Linked DNA regions of Homo sapiens: all the other regions are linked to region 1. Evidence: promoter capture Hi-C in 16 types of primary human blood cells and fetal thymus (Javierre and others, 2016). All regions are on one chromosome and are shown on one strand. The core of a region is centred on a gene start or on the middle of the fragment in contact, and the rest is flanking DNA. Distances in the headings are between cores, read along the strand shown. Region 1 holds the start of MMP20 (matrix metallopeptidase 20). Region 2 overlaps YAP1 (Yes1 associated transcriptional regulator). Region 3 overlaps YAP1 (Yes1 associated transcriptional regulator). Region 4 overlaps YAP1 (Yes1 associated transcriptional regulator). Region 5 overlaps YAP1 (Yes1 associated transcriptional regulator). Region 6 has its middle 67 kb from the start of BIRC3. Region 7 overlaps LOC105369460 (a long non-coding RNA gene).

The links. Contacts are between HindIII fragments. The CHiCAGO score rates a contact against its expected background, and 5 or more counts as called.
Region 2: a contact is called between a fragment that was not itself captured here and the fragment with the promoter of MMP20 in region 1, in 2 of 17 cell types (non-activated CD4 T cells and M2 macrophages). The highest score is 7.0, in non-activated CD4 T cells.
Region 3: a fragment that was not itself captured here is called in contact with the fragment with the promoter of MMP20 in region 1 in 5 of 17 cell types (activated CD4 T cells, naive CD4 T cells, naive B cells and 2 more); the score reaches 7.3 in activated CD4 T cells.
Region 4: a fragment that was not itself captured here is called in contact with the fragment with the promoter of MMP20 in region 1 in 6 of 17 cell types (non-activated CD4 T cells, total CD8 T cells, total CD4 T cells and 3 more); the score reaches 6.7 in non-activated CD4 T cells.
Region 5: a fragment that was not itself captured here is called in contact with the fragment with the promoter of MMP20 in region 1 in 2 of 17 cell types (non-activated CD4 T cells and naive CD8 T cells); the score reaches 5.5 in non-activated CD4 T cells.
Region 6: a fragment that was not itself captured here is called in contact with the fragment with the promoter of MMP20 in region 1 in 11 of 17 cell types (activated CD4 T cells, total CD8 T cells, naive CD8 T cells and 8 more); the score reaches 10.4 in activated CD4 T cells.
Region 7: a contact is called between a fragment that was not itself captured here and the fragment with the promoter of MMP20 in region 1, in 15 of 17 cell types (M0 macrophages, naive B cells, naive CD8 T cells and 12 more). The highest score is 13.4, in M0 macrophages.

Annotation. Positions count from the first base shown.
Region 1 is chr11:102,623,185-102,627,026 of GRCh38, reverse strand. MMP20 (matrix metallopeptidase 20) reads left to right here and starts at 1,695. Exons shown (of 10, transcript NM_004771.4): 1 at 1,695-1,833. The coding sequence starts at 1,708. The HindIII fragment of the contact is 723 bases long and covers 1,506-2,228 here.
Region 2 is chr11:102,166,652-102,170,493 of GRCh38, reverse strand. The region is part of intron 3 of YAP1 (Yes1 associated transcriptional regulator); the gene reads right to left. Among named protein-coding and RNA genes, the nearest start is that of YAP1-DT, 58 kb to the right of the region's middle. The HindIII fragment of the contact is 2,512 bases long and covers 717-3,228 here.
Region 3 is chr11:102,182,897-102,186,738 of GRCh38, reverse strand. It overlaps YAP1 (Yes1 associated transcriptional regulator), which reads right to left. Exons shown (of 9, transcript NM_001130145.3): 4 at 608-721. Among named protein-coding and RNA genes, the nearest start is that of YAP1-DT, 74 kb to the right of the region's middle. The HindIII fragment of the contact is 1,161 bases long and covers 1,339-2,499 here.
Region 4 is chr11:102,210,743-102,214,584 of GRCh38, reverse strand. The region is part of intron 6 of YAP1 (Yes1 associated transcriptional regulator); the gene reads right to left. Among named protein-coding and RNA genes, the nearest start is that of YAP1-DT, 100 kb to the right of the region's middle. The HindIII fragment of the contact is 2,317 bases long and covers 908-3,224 here.
Region 5 is chr11:102,231,157-102,234,998 of GRCh38, reverse strand. It overlaps YAP1 (Yes1 associated transcriptional regulator), which reads right to left. Exons shown (of 9, transcript NM_001130145.3): 9 at 1,575-3,842. Among named protein-coding and RNA genes, the nearest start is that of BIRC3, 84 kb to the left of the region's middle. The HindIII fragment of the contact is 4,148 bases long and covers 1-3,747 here.
Region 6 is chr11:102,248,879-102,252,720 of GRCh38, reverse strand. No RefSeq gene overlaps it. Among named protein-coding and RNA genes, the nearest start is that of BIRC3, 67 kb to the left of the region's middle. The HindIII fragment of the contact is 8,205 bases long and covers 1-3,842 here.
Region 7 is chr11:102,265,536-102,269,377 of GRCh38, reverse strand. It overlaps LOC105369460 (a long non-coding RNA gene), which reads right to left. Exons shown (of 5, transcript XR_007062863.1): 2 at 142-248. Among named protein-coding and RNA genes, the nearest start is that of BIRC3, 50 kb to the left of the region's middle. RefSeq lists a silencer at 520-629. The HindIII fragment of the contact is 2,043 bases long and covers 1,071-3,113 here.

The DNA of each region.
Region 1 (3,842 bases), core at 446-2,945:
CTTTTTTTTTAACAAACTTGATTAAGTAACATTTTTTAGAATACAGTCTTCAAACAGCTTACAATTTAGTTGAATGAATCTAATCTGTGGTTTTCTTTTTTCTTCTTCTGAGACACATGTTTTGTCTATCTCACAGTACATGCCAGAAATTCTGTTTGCCTGTGTGTATTAGTCCATTCTCACACTGCTATAAAGGAATACCCGAGACTGGGTAATTTATAAAGGAAAGAGGCTTAGTTGACTCACAGTTTTACATGGCTGGGGAGGCCTCAGGAAACTTAGAATCATGGTGCAAGGCAAAGGGGAAGCAGGCACCTTCTTGACAAGGCAGCAGGAGAGAGAAGATCAATGGAGGAACTTTCAAACACCTATAAAACCATCATATCTTGTGAGAACTCACTCATTGTCATGAGAACAGCATGACGGAACCACCCCCATGATCCAATCCCCTCCCTCCCTCAACACATGGGGATTACAATTCGAGATGAGATTTGGTTAGGGACACAGAGCCAAACCATATTAATGTGTGACAAACTCTTGTTCAGTGCCTGGGGTTGTACACTAGATACCAAACATTGGCTGTAACTCCACCATCTTCTCTTCCATGCAAAGAAAGCATATCAAAATGCAACAGAGTGAGAAAGACTATAGGAATTCACTGTATTCACTATAGGAATAACCTTGAATTTAGTCTAAAATCAAAATTAGGATTTGAATCCACATCTAGTGGATGCCAAGTGGTGCTTGCAGATGTCATGCTATATGTGTTACTCCATAACACTGAAAAGTTTATACATAGTAGTAGTATTGTCAGTCTTTTGTAGATTAAAAAAAACTTGATATTCAGAGATTAAATGACATACCCAACATCACACAGCTAGGAAATATCTTTTTAAATATTTAGTCTTGCTTTGTCTGACTCTAAGTGCTTTTCCCACCATATGACACCATTTCACCGTATCATCTCTGGATCCAAATCCATCTTAATCAGACCCAGGAAAAACAATATGACTCCAATTAACCAGAGTACACAGAGATTGGGGAGTTCTGGCTATTGTTTTGGTTAACGAAGACGTAACTCTTGCCTTAATTCATCCAAAAGCTTTCTAACAGTTACCAGTTCACTTTCCACCCTAAGTCAGCACAGTATAATGTAATCTTGCCTTGATGATTCAGGATCTTATGTGTCTCAGAGCCATCATTATGAACAGCAGTTGCTACTAAGAAATTTTGAAGTGAATGCAGGAGATACAGGCGATTGGGTTGAATGCATGGGGAGTTTGGGATTACTTGGAGGACAAATTCAATTATACTGTAATCATCTAACTTTTCTGTAATCAGAATGGAAAAAGGCCCCCAAATGAAGACTAATCAAATGTTTCAGTTGAGTTGGGTTCAAATCAATCAAGTTTACTTCAATTTTTGTAACTAGCTGACCAACTTCATTAAAAGTGACTGTTTTTCTCCTTTTGCCACTTGGTAAATAACAAAAAAAATATGAAGCTTTCCCTGATTCCTGTGTACAGTTGTGTTACCCCATCATCAGGGAGAGAAATGAGCTGTATAATTACTGTTTGAGACATGAATCATCCTTGCTCGGAGGGTCCAGACCTGTTTGACTCTATAAAAGGAGCTCAAGGTCGAAGTGCAAACGTGCACTGTCTGCCATCCCCCAGGCTGATATAATTACCAAGCTACTGTGAGGGGATGAAGGTGCTCCCTGCATCTGGCCTTGCTGTCTTCCTCATCATGGCTTTGAAGTTTTCCACTGCAGCCCCCTCCCTAGTTGCAGCCTCCCCCAGGACCTGGAGGAACAACTACCGCCTCGCACAGGTTTGTGAATTTTTGCCCAATTCCTTCTTGCTCCTCTGCCCTAGAAAACCTAAAAGGGCATAGTGAGAAAATAAGAAAAAAATTCTATTGTTCTTTTAAAATCATTTTATATAAGTCCATTGAAGTCTAACTGATGCTATCTTCTGTCCACCTAGATTGGTGTCTGGTGCATATTAGGTGTACCATGTTACATGACTGAATAAATACATGAGGATATATCTACCTAGCTATCTTGCTTCATAAAGAATTCCAGGTGGCTTGTGAAAACCATGCAATATAAAAGGAGCAAACAAGTACTTCCCGGGAATGATGTAGGAGGAAAAATAGAAGCAGAAAAATAAAAACCGAGGCATAATCCACACGCTAGAGGCAGGTTGTGAATTTAGTGCTAAGCTTTAGCGGTCACAACAAGGAGATTTCCTGTGTTTCCACTTTTTAAATGGCTCTTATATTCAAGGTAACCCTGATCAAAATTTAAAGTGGACTAAGTTCTTCCTGGGTGCCAACCCACTTCTCATTTGAAGGCCTTTTCTCCCTAAAGCATATTCCCCAATGAAGTAAAAGTTTATGTACAAAGTACATAACAAAGTTTATGTAGTAAGTACAAAGTACAACGTTTATGTACTTAAACTTTGTGTATTTTCCTCTTTTGAGATCTCTCCTCTATGACTGCTGGAAAGGGTCTGATAGAAATGATCCATATTCAAATATTTCACAAAGACTGCTTGACTCAAAATGATTTCTACATATATATATATATATATATATATATATATATATATATATATATATGCTTCCAAGCGTGTTTTGTTTTTAAAAGAAGGGTGGCATCCTTAACCTAAAGAAATGGATGTCTACGGATGGAATTTCCAACATTAGTGAAAGATATATAGAGGAAATGCTTTTGCACACAGGCCTCCCTTTCAAGAGTCTGCCAACATTACAGCACATCTGTGATCACCAGCTCCGCCTCAGGGCTGCTTTCCTGACTGCCAGGCTGCACCTGTGTACCGCTTGGCTGTCTGCATCGTAGAGCTGATTTGCACCCATGTGCAATGGCATGTCCCTACCGATTGTTTCTGCCACTCATCCTTATTAACTGGTCAGTTCCCCGGCCATACCAGTCATTAAACACTTAAATATCAGCCCCGCAGATGAACAGCACAGCTGATGCCCAGCACAACCATGTTGAACTGAACTTCTTTTGACTTTAGCCCACTTTTAGATGAACTAAATTCAAAATAACTCAGGATACTGGGATCCTTATTCAATTGTATTTTGTCCATGCCACCTAGCTTTAGGTGCCTTCTTCCCAAATGTAATTTTCCCTACCCTGCCTCATGCCACTGTGATTCTGAAACTAAAGAGGTTTTGTGACCTCCAGAAGGAGAGCCATGCTGAGGCCAGAATGGATCTGAGGTGTTGGGAGACCCCCCTTCTAATCCACAGTTCAGGAAAACTACAGTTGGCCCTGCCCCTTAGTTTACAGATTGTCTATGATTGCTTTTGTGCCACAATGGCAGAGGTTAGCCTAGAAGCAAAGAATATTAATTATTGGTCCTTTGCAGAAAAAATTAGTCACCCCTGACCAGTCTATTAAGGAATAAGGCTAGACCAGCCAAGCACCAGTTTCATAGAAGACAGTTTTTCATGGACGTGGGAAGTAGGAGGCTGGAGGGGTGATGGTTTTGGGACGAAACTGTTCCACCTCAGATCATCAGGCATAAGATTCTCAAAAGAGCATGCAACCTAGGTCCCTCACACATGCAGTTCACAATAGGGTTCTGCTCCTATGCGAATCTGATGACTCTGCTGATCTGACAGGAGGCAGAGCTCAGGAAGTAATGCTGGCCCGCCACTCACCTCCTGCTGTGGGGCCAGGTTCCTAACAGGCCACAGACTGGTTTCCGGGTGCAGCCCAGGATCAGGGGACCCCTGGGCTAGACACTCTTGGGTGGAGTCACTCTTGCTATTCTAGCTGGTCAGGAGTCAGCTAGGCACGTTTAGAA
Region 2 (3,842 bases), core at 723-3,222, 460 kb after region 1:
GGACAGGAAAGAATTACCTTATCTGGAATAATCAAGCATGTAACTAAGCATACAAAACACAGTACTCCTCAACACATTTGAGATTTAGATAGTTACTGTGGATAATCATGATACTCAAACTGAAATAATCTTTTAAAAATATGTGGCACTATTAAAAAAAATACTGATCTGCAGCTACTGAAAAACAAAGTAATTATATACCCACATCTCAGCATAATGAATGTGGGTTTCTTTAAACAAAGAATGAAGAAATTAATACTGTAAAAATCATGACTGGAATTAAACAACATCAGAGTGATTCCCAGTGGAGACGAAGTGAAAGGCTCTCACCATCAGAGTAAAATCAAAGCCATTAGTTGCCCTGACACGAGTGGCATCTTCATTATGCAGCTAAGTCAAGAGCGATGATTAGAAAGTGCCTTTATCAGCCATCACTGGGTTTAACAAAGACTTCAGAAGAACTCCCATACTAGAGTAGATACAATAATTACAAGCTAATGCCATTTGCAAGCTGGATATTATAACTGAATTACTTTTTTTATTTCAAAAAGAAAAAATTTAAGTCATCATATTCCATATTGGCATATTTTATTAAAATGAAATGGATTGGCCATAGTTTTAAGTAAGAAAAATGGTGGTTGTTTCCATATTATCATTTTTCAGGAACTTAATCATCAAATAAATCAAGCCACAAGCTATATAAAACAAACCAAGCTTCTTAAGGATTGGCTATATTGATTCCAGATTATTATGCTTTTCCTTATACTATTTTTCCATTTTATAGGGCCATTTCTCTTAATTTACCTGAACTTCTAGATGGGAAAAAGAAAACAGCAATTTTGTTCAAAAAAAATAAGTGTTTTTATTTTAAAAGTTTTTAAAAAAGGTATTTGGAATACAAGCCCGAGAGTAACTAGTCAAATACACTATCTCTTCATTGCTCTGACTTTGGGCTTTGTTATAGTTCACTGCTATTAGGTTTCCCGTTAGTATAGTCTTTTCCCATATATTGTGACTTCAGACTGACAATTTCCATCTTATAATAATCCAGAACTTTTAGAAGAATCAGGAACCAACTACTTGGAAGAGCCAATGACCTCAATTTGATGATAAAAAGCCTACAGAGATAAACATAACTTCAAAGATAGTGTGGTAACAGATTTTTAACAAAGTAACAGTGGCTACCAGGTATTACAAACTGATTAAATTCTAAAATATCAGATCACATTTATTTTATCACATTTATACCAGGCACTGTACACTATTAATAATACATTTTAACTATGTGATATGGATTCTGTCATTTAATGCTCACAACAGCCCTATGAGTTATTATCTCATTTTTCTAAGTGAAGAATACAGGTAGATACAGTAACTTGTCCAAGATTTCATGGACAATAGATGACGCCTGGGATTCAAATCAGGTCCATGGGATTTCCAGAGCCCTTGGTCTTAACCCTTAATGTAAACTGTCTCTCAGTTTCAAAGGTGAAAAGTAAAACTTTAAAGTTTCTGAATTACAGCACATAAAGCAGGAATTACCAACACCTCAACCCTGTTGGTTCTGCAACTTCTCACATCTTTACCCTCTCTGTGCTTTTTAAAGTTAAAACCTAAATCAATGTGTAATTTACCCATCATTTTTATATTTCACATCTATTTTCTAGCTCTCTCATTTTTCTTGGTAACAATCTCTCATTTGATCTTCAGTGCTGAGAGATATTACACAGGCAGGCAGGAGAACACAAGAGGCAAACCTTAAGGCAGCTCTATACTACTCACTTTGCTTGCTTCTGAACATTTTTCCCCACTTCAAGGAAGGTGCTTAGCACATTCCTCTAACACGTATCACCTTTCATGATCAAGAGGGCATTTTCTCCACCCATCTTGAGGTATTTCCTAGGAAATCCTCACAGTTTTTCATAATAGAGAAATCTGAAAGTGCTACATTGGTAGAGTTGGGAACTGTCAAATAAATCCCAACAATTTCTAACTTTAAAGCATATAAATAATGAATTCTCTAAAATGTACCTGTAATAAGACATTTAGGCTTTGGGTTGTTATCAAATGTACATTTCTCAAAAGCAGATAAATGGGTTGATTCTGCTTAATATAAATCAAGACATAACTTTTATTGATCCTAGTCATTTGTCATACAGTTATTTCTGGATTATCACAGAATATACTTTGACTTTACTGTCCCTTGAAGATTCAGCAATCTTGTGGATCAGTGTTAACAAGTACACTATTTAAAAATTTAATATATATCATACACATAGAGCTAAGGAAGTATCACTTTTCACTCCCCAGGGCTTTCTTTTCTAATGCTGAACACAAAAATCATGAAATGTTTACCTAACTCTCAATATGGGGAGAAAAACTACGGATCCTAAGCAGGCATCAAAAGGCTATTATATATAATAACTAATTTATATTATAACTTTTTTTTTGAGACAGGGTCTCACTCTGTTGTCCAGGCTGGAATGCAGTGGTGCAAATATGGCTCACTGCAGCCTTGACCTCGTGGGCTCAAGCTATCCTTCCAATCTCAGTCACCCAAGTTGCTAGCACCACAGGTGTGTGGCCACCATGCCTGGCTAATTTTTATTTTTATTTTTAATACAGATGGGGTCTCCCTATGTTGCCCAGGCTGGTCTTGAACTCCTAGGCTCAAGCAATCCTCCCACCTTGGCTTCTCAAAGTGCTCGGATTATAGGCATGAACGACCACACCCAGCCTTATAAATTATGACTTTTTTTTTGAGATGGAGTCTTGCTCTGTCACCAGGCTGGAGTGCAGTGGCACAATCTCAGCTCATTGCAACCTCCGCCTCCTGGGTTCAAGTGATTCTCCTGCCTCAGCCTCCGGAGTCACTGAGACTACAGGCGTGCACCACCAATGCTCAGCTAATTTTTAAATCTTTAGTGGAGACGGGGTTTCACCATGTTGGCCAGGGTGGTCTCAATCTCTTGACCTCATGATCCACCCACCTTGGCCTCCCAAAGTTCTGGGATTACAGGCATGAGCCACTGCACCCAGCTATAAATTTTAACTTTCAAAGGACATTCACCTCAAGTAATTTAATAGACTAGACTTATTTATACATATATTTATACATTGAATATTTTAATATAAAGTAAAGTACAACCATTATCTTAATACATTATTCCATTTCCTCTTATTTTTCCATTTTCCTCTTCTTCACCTTTCAAATTCTTTCACAAAGCTTGCTGTCATTTACCCTGCCACTTAAATGGCACAGTTAAAGAATATAAATTAATCTTCTTCCAAGGATGTATTGAGTGTTGCCTCTAGAACCTTTTCCAGGTGCATCTTTGTTTTGGGTGATTCTCAGTTATAGATATTTGGAAATTTGCCCAATCACAAACCACTGGTCTCTAGGCTATATGTAGTATCTACCATTTCAACCTCATATTTTGAAAAAGGACTTATAAAAGCATAATTATACTGATCATTTTTGCTAAAGCCAATTAGAAAACAAAATAGAGTTTCATAAAATCTTAAGAATTGGAAAGAATCTTAAAAGATCTTTCATCCTAGTCAACCATGAAAATTATGCAGAAAACAGGTTTGGGGAGTCTAGAGGAAATTACAGTATCTTAAGGAAAGCAGTTGGATGAGGAACAAGATCTCAGAGCAGAACATGAAGCTGGACTCAATTATGAATGATGGGAATTCTTTTTCAAAAAAAAGCAAAGCGAGGAAGTCCTTATTAAATAATGAGTAATAAAAATGTAAATCAAGTTGCATTTAGCATGATTAACCCAGTAGAGTGCTTCAAAAGCACGGTGTAGCTTTCTCTTTTATGTGAAGGCTTCGGG
Region 3 (3,842 bases), core at 670-3,169, 440 kb after region 1:
GCAAATGTGATTTATTCATGAGATCTGGAGGGGAATATGGCTTTCTTTGTTTTCTGAATGAAGAAAAAAAAACATTTATTTTTCGAGAGAGACAGAAGAGGGGGCAAAATGCTTTCACTGGGCCATTTCTGGGGTGACATGTTCCTCCTTAGGATGGGAAACACTACAACACCCAGGCATAAGATGGTACTCATCACTCTCAGAACCTAAGCACAAGCAGACATCAGGTCACTGACAAAAGCTGGTACTCCTGGTCTGAGGTGTTGCATGACAGCCTGATTATTATTGCAGCTAAAAAAAAAAAACATTTTAAAAACAATCACTGTGTTTCTCCCAAAATGTGAAAGGAACAAGTGATTCTGGTTAGTCGGCCATTATGACATTCCCCCACCCCAACCTGAGGAGCCCTAAAAATCTGATTCAGATCTAAATTTCTCAAGTTTACAATGAGAAGGATAAAAACACTACTGGTAAACATTGGGTGGGCAGGGTCATTTTTTAATACTATAAAGCAATGCGATTTTATTTAAATGTGCTTTCCGAAGTATATTTACAAAAAAAATTAGCAACCAAAAGCATCTAAAAAGGTTTTGAGATGAACCTTTACCAAAACGAGGGTCAAGCCTTGGGTCTAGCCAAGAGGTGGTCTTGTTCTTATGGTTTATATAGTAAATTTCTCCATCCTGAGTCATGGCTTGTTCCCATCCATCAGGAAGAGGACCTATAATACAGAAAAAAAAAAAAAAATCATGGTTTTTATTTGGTGCACCTAAAAAAAAGTGGGAGGGGGTACTAATTTAAAAAGAAAACACATCTTAACATAAAACAATTCATTGAAACATATTTAAGGCTGTGTTCAGAGAAGAAAGGTAAACCTATATACCTGCTTCTTCTCCACTAAAAAGAAACCACCAAATAATAAAATGAATATTCCTCAACACAGAGATGAAGAAAAAAAATTTTTTTCCAAAAAATCCTTTTGGAAGTCATGGCCCAAATAATTACTATTACTGTTAACATAAGACACGGAAGAGCTTGCAGCTCAGAAACTACCACCCAATCCAATCAGTTTTGTGACAATACCTTCCTAGGAACACCAAGGTTCATTAATAAGAAATACATGCAAGTATTTTTAGAACGTTGAAAATATCATAAACATTCTATTTAATATAAAGCACATTTTAGCTAAGACAGCCAAGCTCTATTTATTTCCATGTTTTATGTGAGTGGCTCACACCAAGAAAACTGTAAGACAGAAAGCTACAGTCCAAACAAAGCTTATTTTTCAGCAGACCAGAAATTGCTAATGGGTTGGGGTTGCAATTTGAAGTTTAAGCTTGTTGGAGGCTTGGGAGGAGGCAAGATAAGTGCTAAAGTTGTTGGAAGGCAAACTTTAAGGAACATCATTTGAGAGATAGGACTAAAGAATACAGTTAACTCTAAAAGGATTTTCCTATCTTTATAGGAATAGAGAAGTCAAGACAATTGCTCTTGGGAGGTAACAGCAATGAAAAGAGAGGCCCAGAATAAATAACTAAAGTATTCAAACATAATTCTTCCTGATTTCCTTGTCCCTCCCAACTCCCCCAGTTCCCATTTCCAACAGGAATCAAAAGAGGCAGGGCAGGAGATACAAACTGGGATGGTCAGTACATGGCTAAAATCTTTTCTTCTGTGGACTAACATGAATTGAACACTTATCTTGTGCTAGTCATTGTTCTTATATATTATGTACATTAATTCATTTAATTCTTACAGTAAACAAATGACATAAGCAGTAGTACTACTTATTCTAATGAGGAAACTGAGGCACAAAGTGCCAGGTTGATCAGTCTGGTACAAGATCCCAAAGCTAGTTAGTACCAGGAATGGTACTCAAAGCCAGGCAGCGTGATTCCTAACCCACTGACTGCTCTTCACAACTATACTTCTTTTCACTCATCTCCCACAGATGACCAGAGCCTAAGTATCCCTCCTATGCACAAATAGAACAATTCCCTTCTTCCTGTATTGGCAGTCCACACCAGTCTCATGGGTGATGCTGAATAAGTAACTTTGGTTAAACTGACCACTCACACAAGGCCCATGGGACCCAAAGTCCTATTTTTAGGCCAGTTTCATTCGTATTAGGAACAGATCAATTTGCAGCTGCATTTTCAAAGGTCTACTTTGATGGGGTAAAATCCTGTTAGGAAATGCAGACGTGTGGAATTAGTTTTCTCCATGCCTAGAATCCTTAGGAAGGCTCCCCTTCAGTCCTGGATGTGTAGTACACACTACTAACCAAGTCCAGAGGTAGAATTTGTTGTACACATCCCAAGTTTACCAGAGGCTGAATGAGAAGCAAACCTGTTTATCACATGTATATCAAACCTTTTCTCACCAGCTTTCACTGTCATTTTGGGCTCTATTTCCTCCCCAGAAAGACAGAACTCCAAAACTGAATATTAATGGTTTGCTACTATCTTTAACTGTAAAATGGCTGAATTATAAAAAGCTTTTGCAAAACAACTAACTGTATTTAAAATTTTTAGGCACTGAAAATACCATGTGACTATACATGGTGATGAACAAGTCAATAGCAATCACTGAATGCCTTTGGGAGCCTCAACTCAACAACCCCAAGATCTCATTGTAGCTTTCTTTTTTTTTTTTTTTTTTTGAGACGGAGTCTCGCTCTGTCGCCCAGGCTGGAGTGCAGTGGCGGGATCTCGGCTCACTGCAAGCTCCGCCTCCCGGGTTCACGCCATTCTCCTGCCTCCGCCTCCCAAGTAGCTGGGACTACAGGCGCCCGCCACTACGCCCGGCTAATTTTTTTGTATTTTTAGTAGAGACGGGGTTTCACCATTTTAGCCGGGATGGTCTCGATCTCCTGACCTCGTGATCCGCCCGCCTCGGCCTCCCAAAGTGCTGGGATTACAGGCGTGAGCCACCGCGCCCGGCCCTCATTGTAGCTTTCAAGCCTGCTTGAATATATGGGTTTCATATATGTGGTTTAAACACACACACACACACACACACACACACACACACACAGAAACAGCATTATTCCCCACCTTAGCTGTCTGAATGAGAGCCACAAGAGATACCTAGGATACAAACCAACCTTCCCTACCTGCTCCACTCACTTCATTTTGTAAATTCCACTTATATTCTCTCCGATGGGTCTGCCACAGTCCATCTCAGAGAACTCAGCCATCAATACTTACCAGCTCTCTTTTTTGACCACTTCCTCAGTAACTGGCTTGTCATCTCTTCTCACTCCAAGGTCCTCTATCAGTCACCAGGGGTTTCTCTTCTTAAAATATTTTCGATTCATCTTTTAAACATGTCATTCATTCTTACTAAAGAACATTCCTATTGCTCTCCATCAAGAGGAAAATGCCTAAATTCTTTACTAGCTGGATTCATTTCTGAAGTCTTCTTCAGATACCCAGTTTTCCCACCAACTTTCCATAAAATCATGCCATCTCCTTGTATATGCCGTTCCCATTATCACAAATACTCTGCATCCCCTACCTCCTAAACTCTTAGTCATCCTGCAAGAGACAGCTCAGATGTCACTTCTTTAATTCAGCCTTTCCATACTACCTCAGACAGAAATTAGTTTCCTCTTCCATTCTCCATGCACATTTAACAGGTAGAATTGTAATTACTTGATTACATATCTGTTCTCCTGGCAATGATCAAGTCATTCTTCTTTACAAGCTTGTAGGCTAATACCTGAATAGCTGCTCAATAAATGTTTGATGGAAGAATCAATGTCTTGCCTTTTAAGTAATACTTTGAACTTTCTGTAAGCTTAAAATCATGTAGAACCTATATTATTTGCAATTAACATT
Region 4 (3,842 bases), core at 817-3,316, 410 kb after region 1:
AGTGTTAACAGGATTTTGAAACAGCTAACATGAAAGACAGTTTGAAGGGAAAAAAGCCAAATACTTTACTTTTACTAAATTCAGGAAAAAAATGGTTGTTGGCAATTGTTTTCATATAGCTCTGAACAATGGTATTATTTTGTTCTCATTAACTACAACTGTGAACATCTGAACCTCTTCACTGTTGAGAGGTAATGGTGCAGTATAATATCCTCATCAGCAATACTGTGGGCTTTATTATTCATTAAACCAGGGACTGACCTTGGTGTCTATTCATTACCACCTATAAGGAATGGCAACTACACATTATTCAGTAGTTGCCAAATATTTATACTGTAATTTCTATACAGATTGAAGCAATTACTTGCCCAGAAATGAAAGTAACCCCATATCATACTTTTGACCACCTAAATTGGAATTATACTGGCTACTGAGTTAAGACATCTTTATACAGCAGTGTTGTTTTTATTTCTGGGTAGTTTCAAGAATTCTCTAATTTTCTTTTTTTGAGGCAGAGTCTCACTCTGTCACCCAGGCTGGAGTGTAGTGGCATGATCTCAGCTCACTGAACCGCTGCCTCCCAGACTCAGGCCATCCTCCCACCTCAGCCTCCTGAGTAGCTGGGACTACAGGTGCATGCCACCAAGCCCAGCTAATTTTTCCGTTTTTAGTAGAGATGGACTTTCACCATATTGGCCAGGCAGGTCTCGGACTTCTGACCTCAGGTCATTTGCCTGCCTCGGCCTCTCAAAGTGCTGGGATTACAGGCGTGAGCCACTGTGCCCTGCCTCAAGAATTCTCATAAGGGCACTTGGGAATGAATCTCACCCTAAGCCTTAAAACAGAAATGAAGAATCTTTACTGGTAAGAAAGGGGATAAGCAAGGTTCTCACTATGGGGAAAAGCTTGTGAGCAGAATAACAGCAACAAGGCAGTGGAGTACACTTAGCTAATAATGGAAGAGTTACTGGCTTAACTGGAACCAGTGAGTGAAAAGGCTACTGACCACAGACCATGAGCCAGTTGCAGAGTTTAAACTCGATCTCATAGGTACTAGGGAACCCCAGATATTAAGAACCAAATTCTTTTTCTTTTTTTCAAGACGGAGTTTTGCTCTTTTCGCCAGGCTGGAGTGCAATGCCACGATCTTGGCTCACTGCAACCTCTGCCTCCCAGGTTCAGGCGATTCTCCCTCCTCAGCCTCCTGAGCAGCTGGGATTAAAGGCGCCCGCCCCACCACATCCAGCTAATTTCCGTATTTTTAGTAGAGACGGGTTTCACCATGTTGACCAGGCTGGTCTCAAACTCCTGACTTCAGGTGATCCACCCGCCTTGGCCTCCCAAAGTGCTGGGATTACAAGCGTGAGCCACCGCCCCCAGTCCAAGAACCATATTCTTAAGCACAAGAGAAGGTAGAAGTGTTCGCACCTCAGGGGGGACTATCTTTCCTCAAAGTTCTTCTCTCAAAAGACCTTAAAACAGAAGCTAGAGTGCATTCCTAAACCCACTTGCTCAAAAGGTCTCTCCAATTTACAAGTGAGCACTGATGTGTAACAGAGATATGACTAGAAAATAGCATTAACTGCTCAATCTCACAAAGCAAAGATGTTTACAGTTTCAGAAAGTTTCTTCTGAGAATGGAAATTGCTTTTGAAACATAAAAATCATAAGTAACCAAAATGAAATTAAAATGTTAAGCTCTTTGGCAGGGTGTGGTGGCTCATGCCTGTAATCCCAGAACTTTGGGAGGACGAGGTGGGCAGATCACCTGAGGTTGGGAGTTCAAGACCAGGCTGACCAACATGGAGAAACCCTGTCTCTACCAAAAACACAAAATTAGCCGGGCATGGTGGCGAATGCCTGTAATCCCAGCTACTTGGGAGGCTGAGGCAGAATCATTTGAACCCGGGAGGCAGAGGTTGCGGTGAGCAGAGATCATGCCATTGCACTCCAACCTGGGCGACAAGGGCAAAACTCCGTCTCAAAATAAAAATAAAAATAAAAATAAAAATAAAAATAAAAAGTTAAGCTCTGTAAGGATGAATTTTTCCAAAATCCTGCCAACATAGTATAATAAATTAAGGTGATAATTTCCATATTTAACTAAGAAGATATATAAATGCCTTTAAAGTTTTTTCAAAATTTTACATTTCAATATCACTTGGGCCATGGATCTTGGAATTTTTCATTAACCTCACCCATACTGACGTTAGTGTACACGAGCACAGCACCCTACAACAGCCACATGATATGTTAAATCCTATAGGAAGTACTTAAAGACAGCTTCTGTAGTAATTCATAAGCATTTTGAAGTTTAGTGGCTTTCCACATCCCACAGCATATGAGGTATACGATTAGAAAATGACACTGATCTCACTATTGCTTGCTAACTCAGCTGCATTAATATCTATTACAAAGTATAAGTTAAAAACCCAGTAACTTTACAACAGCGTCTAGTGTTCAGATACTGAGTGATGTCTTTATACCCTCTGTTCTTTGGGGCTGAAAAGTCCTTTCTAGCTTTCTTGATTATTCTGAGAAACACTATTTAAAGCCATCTTCACTTAAGATATGACTCTTCTGGCTGGGCGCGGTGGCTCACGCCTGTAATACCAGTGCTTTGGGAGGCCGAGGCAGGCGAATCATGAGGTCAGGAGGTGGAGACCATCCTGGATAACATGGTGAAACCCCGTCTCTACTAAAAACACAAAAAATTAGCTGGGCGTAGTGGCAGGCACCTGTAATCACAGCCACTCAGGAGGCTGAGGCAGGAGAATTGCTTGAACCTGGGAGGTGGAGGTTGCAGTGAGCTGAGATTGCGCCACTGCACTCCAGCCTGGGTGACAGAGCAAGACTCCATCTCAAAAAAAAAAAGAAGAAAAGACATGACTCTTCTTTGTGATCTATTTCCTGACATCTACCTTAAGGTTATTTAGAAAATAATAGGATGAGAAAAATATACACATGCTTTCTTGATACAAATACCACCAGATTTCTTGATCTATTTCAAATATAACCCTATACTTGAATTTCATACATTTACTGATAACTTTCCACAATTATGCCAGGTAAATATTAAACACTGACAACTAAAGCATATATAACAAACCAATATTTTAATCTCCAGCATATGCAAAGAAGATTTTTAAAAACCTCTTTCAAGTTTTTTGCTCTGGTCTGGGCAAATCTGAGTAATTACCTCTAATCTTCGTATCTTAGAAGCTTTACTACTAATAAGCCTCACCTTTTCTAAAACTTTACTATTTTAAAAAATCTAAGAATTCCTGATAATTTTAATAACAGTAAAGATTTACTTTTCTATTCAAGTATGAAACAAAGATCAAGAAGAATTTGACTTATTTATCAGATTCAGGGTATAAGACCTTGGGAAAAAAGGAAACAATTTCAACATTTTTTTGGCATGGAGGACTTTTTACCTGAATCCAAATCTCCTTTGAGTTAATTTCTGCTCCTATATTAGTTTCTATTTCATTTATCATGAATAAAATTCTTCTTTCAGAAACACTTCAGGCCAGACGTGGTGGCTCACGCCTGTAATCCCAGCAATTTGGGAGGCTGAGGTGGGCGGATCACGAGGTCAGGAGATCGAGACCATCCTGGCTAACACTGTGAAACCCCGTCTCTACTAAAAAATTCAAAAAGAATTAGCTGGGCATGGTGGCGGGCGCCTGTAGTCCCAGCTACTTGGGAGGCTGAGGCAGGAGAATGGTGTGAACCCGGAAGGCGGAGCTTGCAGTGAGCCGAGATCACACCACTGCACTCCAGCCTCGGCAACAGAGCGAAACTCCATCTCAAAAACAAAAACAAAAAACAAAAACAAA
Region 5 (3,842 bases), core at 424-2,923, 390 kb after region 1:
CCTCCCCCTCCCTCTGGAAGACTGTTTTCTTGCTTATTGCAGCTGAGCAATTCACTTACTGAGCTGTTGAACTTTAATTTGGGGTCTAAGAAAAACATTATGTAAATCATGTTTTAAGTATGACTACTATACTTCTCAAGTATTTGGAATGTTCCTCCTTGTTCTCGTTAGAGGCTATTCCCAAATCTAAATACATTTTTCTGAGTATTCTGTTAAACTCAGAGTTAACTAAAGATGGTACAATTCTGGTTCAGAGATCCAGAATGAAGGCAGATTCACATTACTGGGCTTCACACCATCTGACAAAAAGTGTACCACCGTGGAGCAACAAGCACAGTGTCTACAGACACAAGGTATGGTTTTGAGCCAAGATGTACCACCACTATATCTGAACTACAAAAAGGAAATAATCAATTTCAAGCTACACGAAATTAGTGTTCTAACATAAAGAAATTATATATTGTAAAATATGAAGCATTTTCAGATTTGCCTCACCAAAATAGATGTGTCAATAATTGAAGCTATTATACACGCAAACACAGAAATCAATCTTTTTTTTTTTTTTTTCTGAGATGGAGTCTCGCTCTGTCACGCAGGCTGGAGTGTAGTGGCGTGGTCTTGGCTTACCGCAGCCTCTGCCTTACGGGTTCAAGTGATCCTCCCACCTCAGCCTCTCAAGTAGCTGGGATTGCAAGCATGCACCACCATGCCCAGCTAATTTTTGTATTTTTAGTACAGATGGGGTTTCACCATGTTGACTAGGCTGCTGTCGAACTCCTGACCTCGGGTGATCTGTCCGCCTCAGCCTCCGCCCACAATGCTGAAATTACAGGCGTGAGCCACCACGTCCAGCCATCTTTAAAGATACTCAAATCTACTTCTTATTCAAAGGTCAGGACCTACCACTTCAATTTGTGAATGTTTTTATTTATAAGCCAGTAAGTAATGCTTTTTACTAATATATAATATTCTCTCATGACCTCCAAAATAGAACAGAATATATATATATTCTCAGCCTCCCGAGTAGCTGGGATTACAGGCATGCGACACCACGCCCAGCTAATTTTGTATTTTTAGTAGAGACGGGGTTTCTCCATGTTGGTCAGGCTGGTCTTGAACTCCCAACCTCAGGTAATCCGCCTGCCTTGGCTTCCCAAAGTGCTGGGATTACAGGCGTGAGCCACCACGCCTGGCCTGAGAGAATATATTAAAGAAGTAAAACCAAAGGCCATTCTGAAAGACAGTGCCATGTTCTTATGTTCTCAGTGTCCTCTGTGCCGTCACATGTAGTGAAGTCATTTAAGAATCAAGCAGACGCAGTTCTGCTTAGACACTACCACGGATGAGGATGGTGTATGTGAAGAGTAAGAACACAAAGTTAAAAGAATTATATATCCATACTTCAAAAGTTCCAAATGTCAAGCCTAACTTAAAGCACAACGAAACTTAAGTTTAACTTGTCTTCCCAGTTACTACTGTAATCACCTTTTATTGCCAGTTCTTGTTCTATTGGAAGACCAGTAAGAAGCCAAAAAAAAAAAAAGTTTCAAATATCAATTGTTAAAAACAACAAAGAAGAGTTTAAGGAAAGAATATATTTGAACCACATAAACAAACAAAAAGGTATTACATAAGAAAAAATAATGTAACAATTTATGTAAGTACCTAACATATGAGCATGCTCTTACATCTAAAACAAAAAATAAAAAGGTAACATTGGTACTATATATATATATTTGACAAGTGTGCATTAAAGAATTCTCTAATATAAAACATTTAAAATGTGGAGAATACTTTTTCAAGATACAGAAAACAATTGTTATGATAGGCACACCCACAATTCTTATAACAACATGCTTGCGAGGATAAAATCCACCTGAGCACTCATTTCTCAGATGTACCAACGCTAGAAAAGTGTTAAGCACTGAATATTGCCACCCACTTTTGCAATGTTTGAGTTTCAACACTGATTGGTATGAATTCTGAATTACACAATTAATTACTGTTATTTTTCAGTCTTTCTGCCATGTTCCATATAGAAGGCATGTATTTAATATGAATACTTAACACAGCAACATTATTTGTAGCAAAGTCACTTCCCTGTGTTCATTTTTCCTTTAAAGGCACTACATTTAGAAAAGTTATTACAACAAATAGTGCTTTGGAAGATCTGAAACTCCAAATCAATGTGCTCCATCAACCATAAGTAGATCTAAGAAGCCCTGACTGAAAATAACACAAATGTAAAAAGTTGATAAATTTAAAGATTATAAAATTGGTTTATTGTAAAAGCAATTCAAGAATACCCAGTTAAAATCTTATCCCAATGCTACCCAATACAACCAAGAAGCAGTTAAGCACTTTTACATTAGGAACAAGGACATAAAACAAGAGACCACATCAAGGCTATGATTCAAACTCAAAAAGGGAAAGGACTCTTAGGTCTCCTTCAGGTCAGTACAGAGGGCATCGTAAGATCAAAGCACTGTGCCAGGTATCACAGTACTGCTACAACACTGAGGTATAACTGGGCAAATTAAAGTTGAGGGGTAAAGGAAGATCTCCATATTCATATTGTTTTGTGGGTGTACTTAGGTGACTGAAACTCTAGAACAGCTGCCTTTAATGGCAGCACGGTGTAAGACAAGTCTTTATTAAAGAGAAAGAAGTTTATAAAGTTCTCTATCAAGGTCCCCCTAAATCTTCACAACCCCCCCCCCAAACTTTCCCACCCTCCCCCTAAGCTAAAGCTAATCTGCTGATATATAAGATATAATCTTAATCTGTGGCTACTGGCAAATTATAGGCACTCCTTCCAAGTAGCTTTGATCTTCTGCACATTAAAAAAAATCCCAACAACATGCTATGTAATTCATATACCCAATTTTGCATTCTAGGTAGAATTTCATTACTACTCTAAAACTCCATCTGCAGTGGCCATTTCCCCCCAGACTTAATTCAAGATTTAATCTTTCTGCTGTTTTCTTAATAAAAGCCTTAGAGTCAATTATTATGAGTGATCAACCTATGAACTATTATATACAACACAGTGATTGCATTTTTTTGAGCACTGAAAGTACTTAAAATAAAACTTCTTACTTCCAACTTTTGCCCTCCTCCAAATTGAAGGGCCAAAATACTTAGATTTTGTAATTGGGGGGAAAAAAATCTATCTTCCCAAGCTGAGGCTTTTCATAGCAGCTTTTGCCAGGAGAAGAGATTTTATGCCTGTTATGAACCCTTGAAAATAAGGGCTTATTCTAGAAACATTGAAAGACCCTTAAAACACAGAGGTGCTAGCTGGTGCCACTTTAATTCACAACCAACTATTACTTCATAGCTTATATTGAAGAGTTAATTCATGCTCGTTTTGTTCCTTTAAAAAATACTCTTTGGAAACCATTATTACTCCTGTAGACACATACTCTAGTTACATCATCTCTTCCTGTAAAAATAAAGGTATAATCATGATTATCTCTATTTCTTTGCTAAATTCAACTACCAATATACATTTATTAATCTGATCACTTTTCCAGCTAACTCAAAACCTTATAGTATTCTATCCAGGGTCAATTTTCAGCATAGAAGTAGGAGCAAGTCTTGTAAGTAAGAACAATCTTGAAGGCAATATTTTAATCTAGTCGTTAATGTGTTCATTACAAATGAGAACTACAAACTAGAATTTACTTCCAAAACTAAGGCAAAGAAAACTTCCAAAGCTAAATGAAGGTAAACCACTATAAAGCTTATTTCTGTCATGCACATTATGAACCTACTCACTGAATTCCAATCGAGACTTAAAAATTAGTCCAAGGGAGAAAATAAAGCCATTTCTGGTTTGC
Region 6 (3,842 bases), core at 880-3,379, 370 kb after region 1:
TGACATCCCCGGATGATGGTCAGGAGTCAGAAGTAAACAATTCAGTGGCATTTAGTAGAGAAGTAAGAAGGTTGGAAGGGGAAAACAACAGCTGAGTCAGGGTACAAAAGTAAAAATCATTTCCTCCCCCTCCTGTATACAGAGGCAGACAGTGGTTGCGTTTTATTCCTCGGATTTCTCGCTTTCCATTCACTATTCAACCCACTGCAATCTGGCACCCACCCACACTGAAACTGCTTTTGACGACATTTTCAGTGACTTCCTAGCTGCAAAATGCAATGGACAGTTTTCGGCCTTCATGTTGCTGGACCTTTTTGCCTTATTTGAAAATCCTGATTTGCTATTTTCTTTGTCCACATCTTTGACATCAGTTTCTCTTGGTTCTTTTCCTGCCTCCTGACTGCTCCTTCTTAGCCTGCTTCATTCATGTAAGGTCCTATGCTAGGTGCTGGATATAGCAGTAAACACAACAGACACAGTGTCTTCCCTTACAGGGAAAAGCAGACATTAAATCAACAATTATACATCAATATTTTTGTTAGTTTGTTTTGAGACAGTCTCGCTCTGTCGCCAGGCTGGAGTGCAGTGGCACATTCTCAGCTCACTGTAACCTCCACCTCCTGGGTTCAAGCAATTCTCCTGCCTCAGCCTCCGAGTAGCTGAGATGACAGGTGTGTGTCACCACGCCCAGCTAATTTTTGTATTTTTAGTAGAGATGGGGTTTCACCATGTTGGCCAGGATGGTCTCGATCTCTTGACCTTGTGATCTGCTAACCTTGTCCTCCCAAAGGAGGACGAGGGATTACAGGTGTGAGCCACTGCACCCAGCCAATACATCAATTTTTTACTTAGGATTATGAAAAGTACAACAAAGAGGAGTACAAGGGGCTTTGAGAGCACGTGCCAGGGGTCTAGTTTATACCAGAGGCTCAGCGAAGTTTTCCCTAAAGAAATGATATTTGAGCTAAGACCTGAAGGATGAGTGGGGAATTGGGAGAACTGTCCTCCAGGCAGAGGGAACAGAATGAGGAAAGGCTGTGAGATAGAAAAGAGTTTGCAGGTTTCAGGAACAGAGAAGCCAGCATGGCTGGAGAAGAGGAAGTGAAGGGGAGAACTGGAAAGGACAAGATTTTACAAGGCCCTGCAATCATATAGGGTTTGGGACTAAATCTTAAAAGTAATGAGAAGCCACTCAAGTGTATAAGATAGGAAAGTAATATGATTAGATCTGTGATCTAAAGATCTCACCAAGTCTATTGAACTTACCATATCCCTGAATCTGTTTCTCCTCCTGTCTCCCTTATGTGGCACCACCATCCATTAGAAATCCAGCATCATCCTAGATGACTTCATCTCCCTTAGTTTCCACTTCCAATCAATTACAAGTTTGTGAATACCTGCTAATTATTTCTAGATTCAAGCCCTTTCACCATCTCTACTACCATGGACCCACTTAGGTCCTTATTATCACTCTCTTGGCCTATGCAACAGCCTCTTAACTAATCTTCCAGACTTGTCCTTCCTTCAAGCCATCCTCCACATTGTAACCTGTGTGCCTTTGCCTATCTCCAGCCACTGCTGCTTCCAGCCTCTTGCTGGACAGCCCAGAAAAAAAACCATACTGTTTCACTGTACTCAGTCTTTGCTTATATTTCCCTTTTTTTTTTTTTTTTTTTTTTTTTTGAGACAGGGTCTCAGTCTGCCGCCCAGGCTGGAATATGCAGTGGCGTGATCATGGCTCACAGCAGCCTCGACCTCCCTGGCTCAAGTGATCCTCTCACCTCAGCTTCCTGAATAGCTGGGACCACAAGCATGTGATACAATGCTTGGCTAATTTTTGCACTTTTTGGTAGAGACAGGGTTTCACCATGTTGCCCAGGCTGGTCTCAATTTCCTAAGCTCAAGCAATCCTCCCACCTCAGCCTCCCAAAGTGCTGGGATTACAGGTGTGAGCCACTGCACCTGGCCTTATATTTCCCTTCTGCCTAGAATCCCCTTACAATTTTTCTTTCAGTGGCTATCTCTTACTCATCCTTTAAAACTCAACACAGGTGGCTGGGAGGGGTGGCTCACACCTGTAATCTCAGCACTTTGGGAGGCCAAGGCAGGCAGATCATGAGGTCAGGAGATCGAGACCATCCTGGCTAACACGTTGAAACCTCATCTCTAATAAAAATACAAAAAATTTGCTGGGCTTGGTGGCGGGCGCCTGTAGTCCCAGCTAATAGGGAGGCAGAGGCAGGAGAATGGCCTGAACCCGGGAGGTGGAGCTTGCAGTGAGCTGAGATTGCGCCACTGCACTCCAGCCTGGGCGACAGAGTGAGACTCCATCTCGAAAAACAAAACAAAACAAAAACAACAAAAACAAAAAAACCCAACACAGGTGTTAGCGCATCCCTCAGTGGTTTTGGGTCCCTCCTGAATGGTTAACAATTGGAAGTTCTGATAAGCCCCAAACACAGGTCTGTCATGCTTCTGAAGCTAGAGAATATCCACAGGCCAAGAGAATATAAATGGAAGTCTGGGTAGGCCAAGGGGGTATTGACAATGCACCAACAGTACAGTTTCCACCAGAAGTGACATACATCACTTCTGCTCACATTCTGCAGGCCAAAGCAAGTCACATGGCTTCCAGAAAGGCAGAGAAGTCACACCCACCATGTGCTAAAAAAGCAAAGAGCTGAAAATTTTCAAAATAAAATATTGAAAATATTTTATGCTTAGCACTAATGATCACCACCAAGCAATGTCAAAATTAATAAATGATAGGAAGGAAAATATTGGACCAAAACCAATTTTCATCCATACAGTTATTTATCTACTAGCCAGTTTGGGGGCACTTTCTATGTGTCTTGCAGTGTATTAGGCTTATAATATTCAGCTTATATGTTAACCAAGAAGACCAGAATGATTGACTAAATATTGAAATATTATTGTATCAATTGGTAAAAAGTATAACTTCAGTAAGTTATAAAATGAAATAATAATATAAATTCTAATGTAAGCCATTTGTTTAAGCTAATTATTTAGAAAATTGCAATAATAAATCAGTGAGCTCCTGTCCTTGAAACCCCTGAAGAACTCAAGCACTTTACTTTGGAGTTCAGCCTGTGTCAAGGTGGGCACCATGGCACATCCTCTACAAGGTTCTCTGGGTGCTGGTGGGCTCACCAGTTTATAACTATCCTCAAGTGGCACGGTTGTTGTTATTTCTTTTTTTGTTTGTTTGAGATGGAGTCTTGCTCTGTCACCCAGCTCAGAGTGCAGTGGTGCGATCTCAGCTCACTACAACCTCCCCCTCCAGGTTCAAGTGATTATCTTGCCTCAGCCTCCCAAGTAGCTGGGATTACAGGCACCCACCACCACACCCAGCTAATTTTTGTATTTTTAGTAGAGACGGGGTTTCACCATCTTGGCCAGGCTGGTCTGGAACTCCTGACCTTGTGATCCACCCGCCTTGGCCTCCCAAAGTGCTAGGATTACAGGCGTGAGCCACCGCACCCGGCTTCTTTTATTTTTTATTTTTTTTATTTTTATTTTTTTGAGACAGGGTCTTACTCTCTCACCTAGACTGGAGTGCAGTGACGTGATCTCGGCTCACCGCAACCTCCGCCTCCCAGGCTCAAGTGATTCTTCTGCTTTAGCCTCCCAAGTAGCTGGGATTACAGGTGCGTACCACTACTGCCCAGCTAATTTTTGTATTTTTAACACAGACGAGGTTTCACCATGTTGGCCAGACTGGTCTTGAACTCCTGACCTCAAGTGATCCAGCTGCCTTGGCCTCCCAAAGTGCTGGAATTACAGGTGTGAGCCATGCGTCCAGCCTGCTATTTCTTAATAGT
Region 7 (3,842 bases), core at 843-3,342, 360 kb after region 1:
TGTACTACTTCCAGCTTCTCCCTGTCCTTGCTCTCATCCTACCTCTCTAACTAGCTGCAACGTGCTCTTCCTCCACAGCCCCCTCTACCTGTCCAACACCCAGCAATTCCACCCTCACAGCACTTCCCACTGCCCGTTTACCTGTTGGTCTTTTCCACTAGACAATAAGCTTCTTGAGGGTTATTTTGCCATTAAATCCCCAGTGACTGGAAACAAGTAGACCCTCGGTAGCTATTTGCTGAATCAGACTGAATTTGGAAAGAAAAAGGAAAGAAACGAGCACTAATGAATAAGTGTCAGTGCTTGGCACATAAACAATATAGATACGTCATTCTTTTAATCCTCAAACAGCTGTGAAATTTAACGATAATCAACCCCATTTTGTGAATAAGGAAATTGAATCTCGAGAGTCCAGTCACTTGAGCAAGGTGTATAGAGGAGGTAGGACAAAATTGTCGCTAAGTCGGGCAACGCCCTCTGCAGCAGCCGAGCGGCGCTGCCTCCTGATTGCCGGGGATGACTGGGGCTGCCGGAGCTCTCTGGGCAGAGATCCAAGCTCCGGGCCCAAGTACAGGCAGGTGTTCGTGCAGAGGCCCCACCCACCCTGGCTGGAGCCCCGCCCCACCCGCATGCCCCGCCTACTCAGCGCTGCCCCGGTGGAGAAAGCAGCGCGGCCGCAGGGCGTGCAGGATTGACAGGGCATGCCCTGGCATTCCGGAAATGCCGTGGAAAACAGCGAAACTTCAGCTCCAGGTGGCCTAGAGGCGTGGCAAACGAGAATGTGGGGGAGGTGTTCACTGCAGAAGGGTGGTCCCAAATCTGGGACCCACCGTTCCCTCCAGCCCCGCAGAAGTCAGTCAGGCCGTGGTGCTGGAAGCTTCTCAGACTTGCCTGTCATTAAAGTCCGAGGGTGGTTATAAACTCCAACTGTCACGGCAAGTTGTGTTTTTGGAGACTCTTCCAACTCCGCCAGGCTGTAAACAATGACTTTGCCTTAGAAGTTGCAGTTGAATAGGAAGAGCTTGGAAGAGCGCTTTGAGTTGAATTGCCAAGTCGGAGCTTTTGAAGCTTCTCCGAAGTTTGCTCGAATTGCAGCCCGAACTACATCTTTTCCACAAGGGCTGGACATATTTCAGGAATCTAGTATTTCCTTGGGGAATGTTTTCCTCCCCCTGCGCTGGAAGCTGCTCTCCATGTTTTCCCCCCCTTTCATTCCCATGGGTTGAAACTGACCCGCCCTGTGTGGAGGAAGTCCTCTGTAGGACTCTGGAGATCCGACCAGGACATCCACCTGGGCATTTTGGACCCCAACGCCTTGCTTCTGTATCTGATCTGCATTTGCCTTTCTGGACACCCTCTTCTGTGCTCCAAGACACCCTATACTTTTCTACCTTGACAGGGAACTTGACATTTTTAAACTTACCTATTTATTTGTCCGTCTCCCCTATTAGATTATGAATTCCTTAGGTCAGAGACATTCTTTCCTTATGTCAGTACCTGACACATTGAACCGTGGTTGTGGAGAGAATAAGTTCCCTCAGCCGTTATGAAGGGAAACCTCCCCAGCTTGTAAACTGTCTCCTTGACTTATGGAGGACTGTTCCAGAATGAGTCAGAGGGGAAGATCCACCCAGATAAGTCGGAGGCATTGGAAACAAGCCGGTAAAACTTTCTTCATTTGATCTTTTATACATTGGAGCTACTCACACAGATAGATTTTTGAAGCAAATAACTGCATTTTGCATCTACCATCCCTTTTCCCCCCACATTTAACCCACACTATGTAGATAAAATTTACTTGGGGAATTCTTGAACAGTTAAATTGTTTATATTCAATTAAGAGATTTTTATCTTTATTAATCCCCTCCTCCTCCACATATTTTCAGGCAAAATAATTATTGAGTAGTATAGGGACTTTGGGATCGTTATAATAATCAAAGAGGCCTGAGTATTCATTCAAAAAATGAAAATGAGATTTTTCATTTTTTGAAGGAAGGAATTCGTGCTTAACTCTGATGTTCATTTAGTTACTGATGATTTTTAAATTTTAACTTGTATATTCAAGTGAGTATTGTCTTTTCTTGTTATATGTTTATTTAACAATGCCATCATTTCTCAAAGCATTTTATTTTACTTACTTTAAGCCATAAGAAAAGCAAGGTGGGCATTGCTTGAGCCCAGGAGTTTGAGACCAGCCTGGGCAACAAAGTGAGATCCCCCGTCTCTCTCTCTCTCTCTTTTTTTTCTTAAATAAGAAGTTAAAAAAGGAAAAAAAAAAAAAAGAAACAAAAGCAAAGCATACTTGTGGTAGGACGCAGTGGCTCACACCCGTAATCCCAGCATTTTGGGAGGGCAAGGTGGAAGGATCCCTTGAGCCCAGGAGTTCGAGACCAGTCTGGGCAACACAGGGAGCCCCTATCTGTTTTTTTTTTTTTTTGAGACAGAGTCTTGCTCTGTCGCTCAGGCTGGAGTACAGTGGCGCGATCTCGGCTTACTGTAAGCTCTGCCTTCCGGGTTGACGCCATTCTCCTGCCTCAGCCTCCCCAGTAGCTGGGACTACAGGCGTCCGCCACCACGCCCGGCTAACTTTTTGTATTTTTTACTAGAGATGGGGTTTCACCGTGTTAGCCAGGATGGTCTCGATCTCCTGACCTCGTGATCCGCCCGCCTCGGCCTCCCAAAGTGCTGGGATTACAGGCATAAGCTACTGCACCCGGCAGAGCCCCTATCTCTAAAAAATAAAATAAAATAAGATATATGTTTTTTGAAGCAGACCTGTATCTTTATAGTAATACCTCATATACCCCAGAATTCTGAAGATAAGACCATCAGGCCAAGTACAGACTTAGGGCCACGCTCCCCCTCCATGTTTTTTAGAGCCCCACAACCCCTTCATGTTTTTTAAATTCACAATTAGTGTTCTTTCAACATGAATAGACTAAAATATCTCAGTTTTCTGAAACAAAAAGGAACATGATTTATTGACCTTATTTAACCAAAGGAAACATATGGTGTCATTTAACACTAACTCTAGATTTGGATCAAATTTTTAGAATGAGCAATGCCTCTGATTTAACTAAGCATCTCCTGCAGGAAAGGAGTCATGCAAAGCTTCATCTGCTCAACTGAGAACAGAACAGGCCAAAGTTTAACTTTATATTCCCTGGGATTCTTCAGGCTATTAAAATATTTGGCTAAATGATTGAATACGCTTTACAAAAGTCACAATATTTTCATATACAACATTTGGAAATGAGCTAATTGCTTTTCATGTGCTTCTCAAATGACAGACAGTACAGCCCCCTCAGAGATTCCCATAGCAATGGCCTATAGACTTTGCAAAATCATAGACTAACAGGGATGCAGTTTTTTTGGAGAATCAATTTTGCTGAATGGTGATTAGCCTAAAATATTTTATATTAAAAACCAAACAGAATGCAACATGTATATGAATTTTTAAGATCAAACAGCAAATTCTAAAGAAATTTTTGTTTGCAGTGCCAGCATCATCTCTCCAACAGCCCTCTCACCCTCAGGATATATATTCCCTTTCGTTTTTTCAGGATTGTTTGGTGGAAGTTTAAGATACTCTCTAACCTAATATGTTGACATTAGTCAGCGTTCACTGACCTTGAGGAAAACTAGCTAACATTGACTTGTGTAATGTATGGTCTTTATCATTCTGGTTCTTCCCTCCACCCGCCATCTGTCTCCCAGGTAGGCTAACTCTAAAACAGGCACAACTAAGGCTTACTTACATTCCCTTTTTTTTTTTTTTTTCCTGAGACAGAGTCTCACTCTGTCACCCAGGCTGGAGTGCAGTGGCACCCTCTTAGCTCACT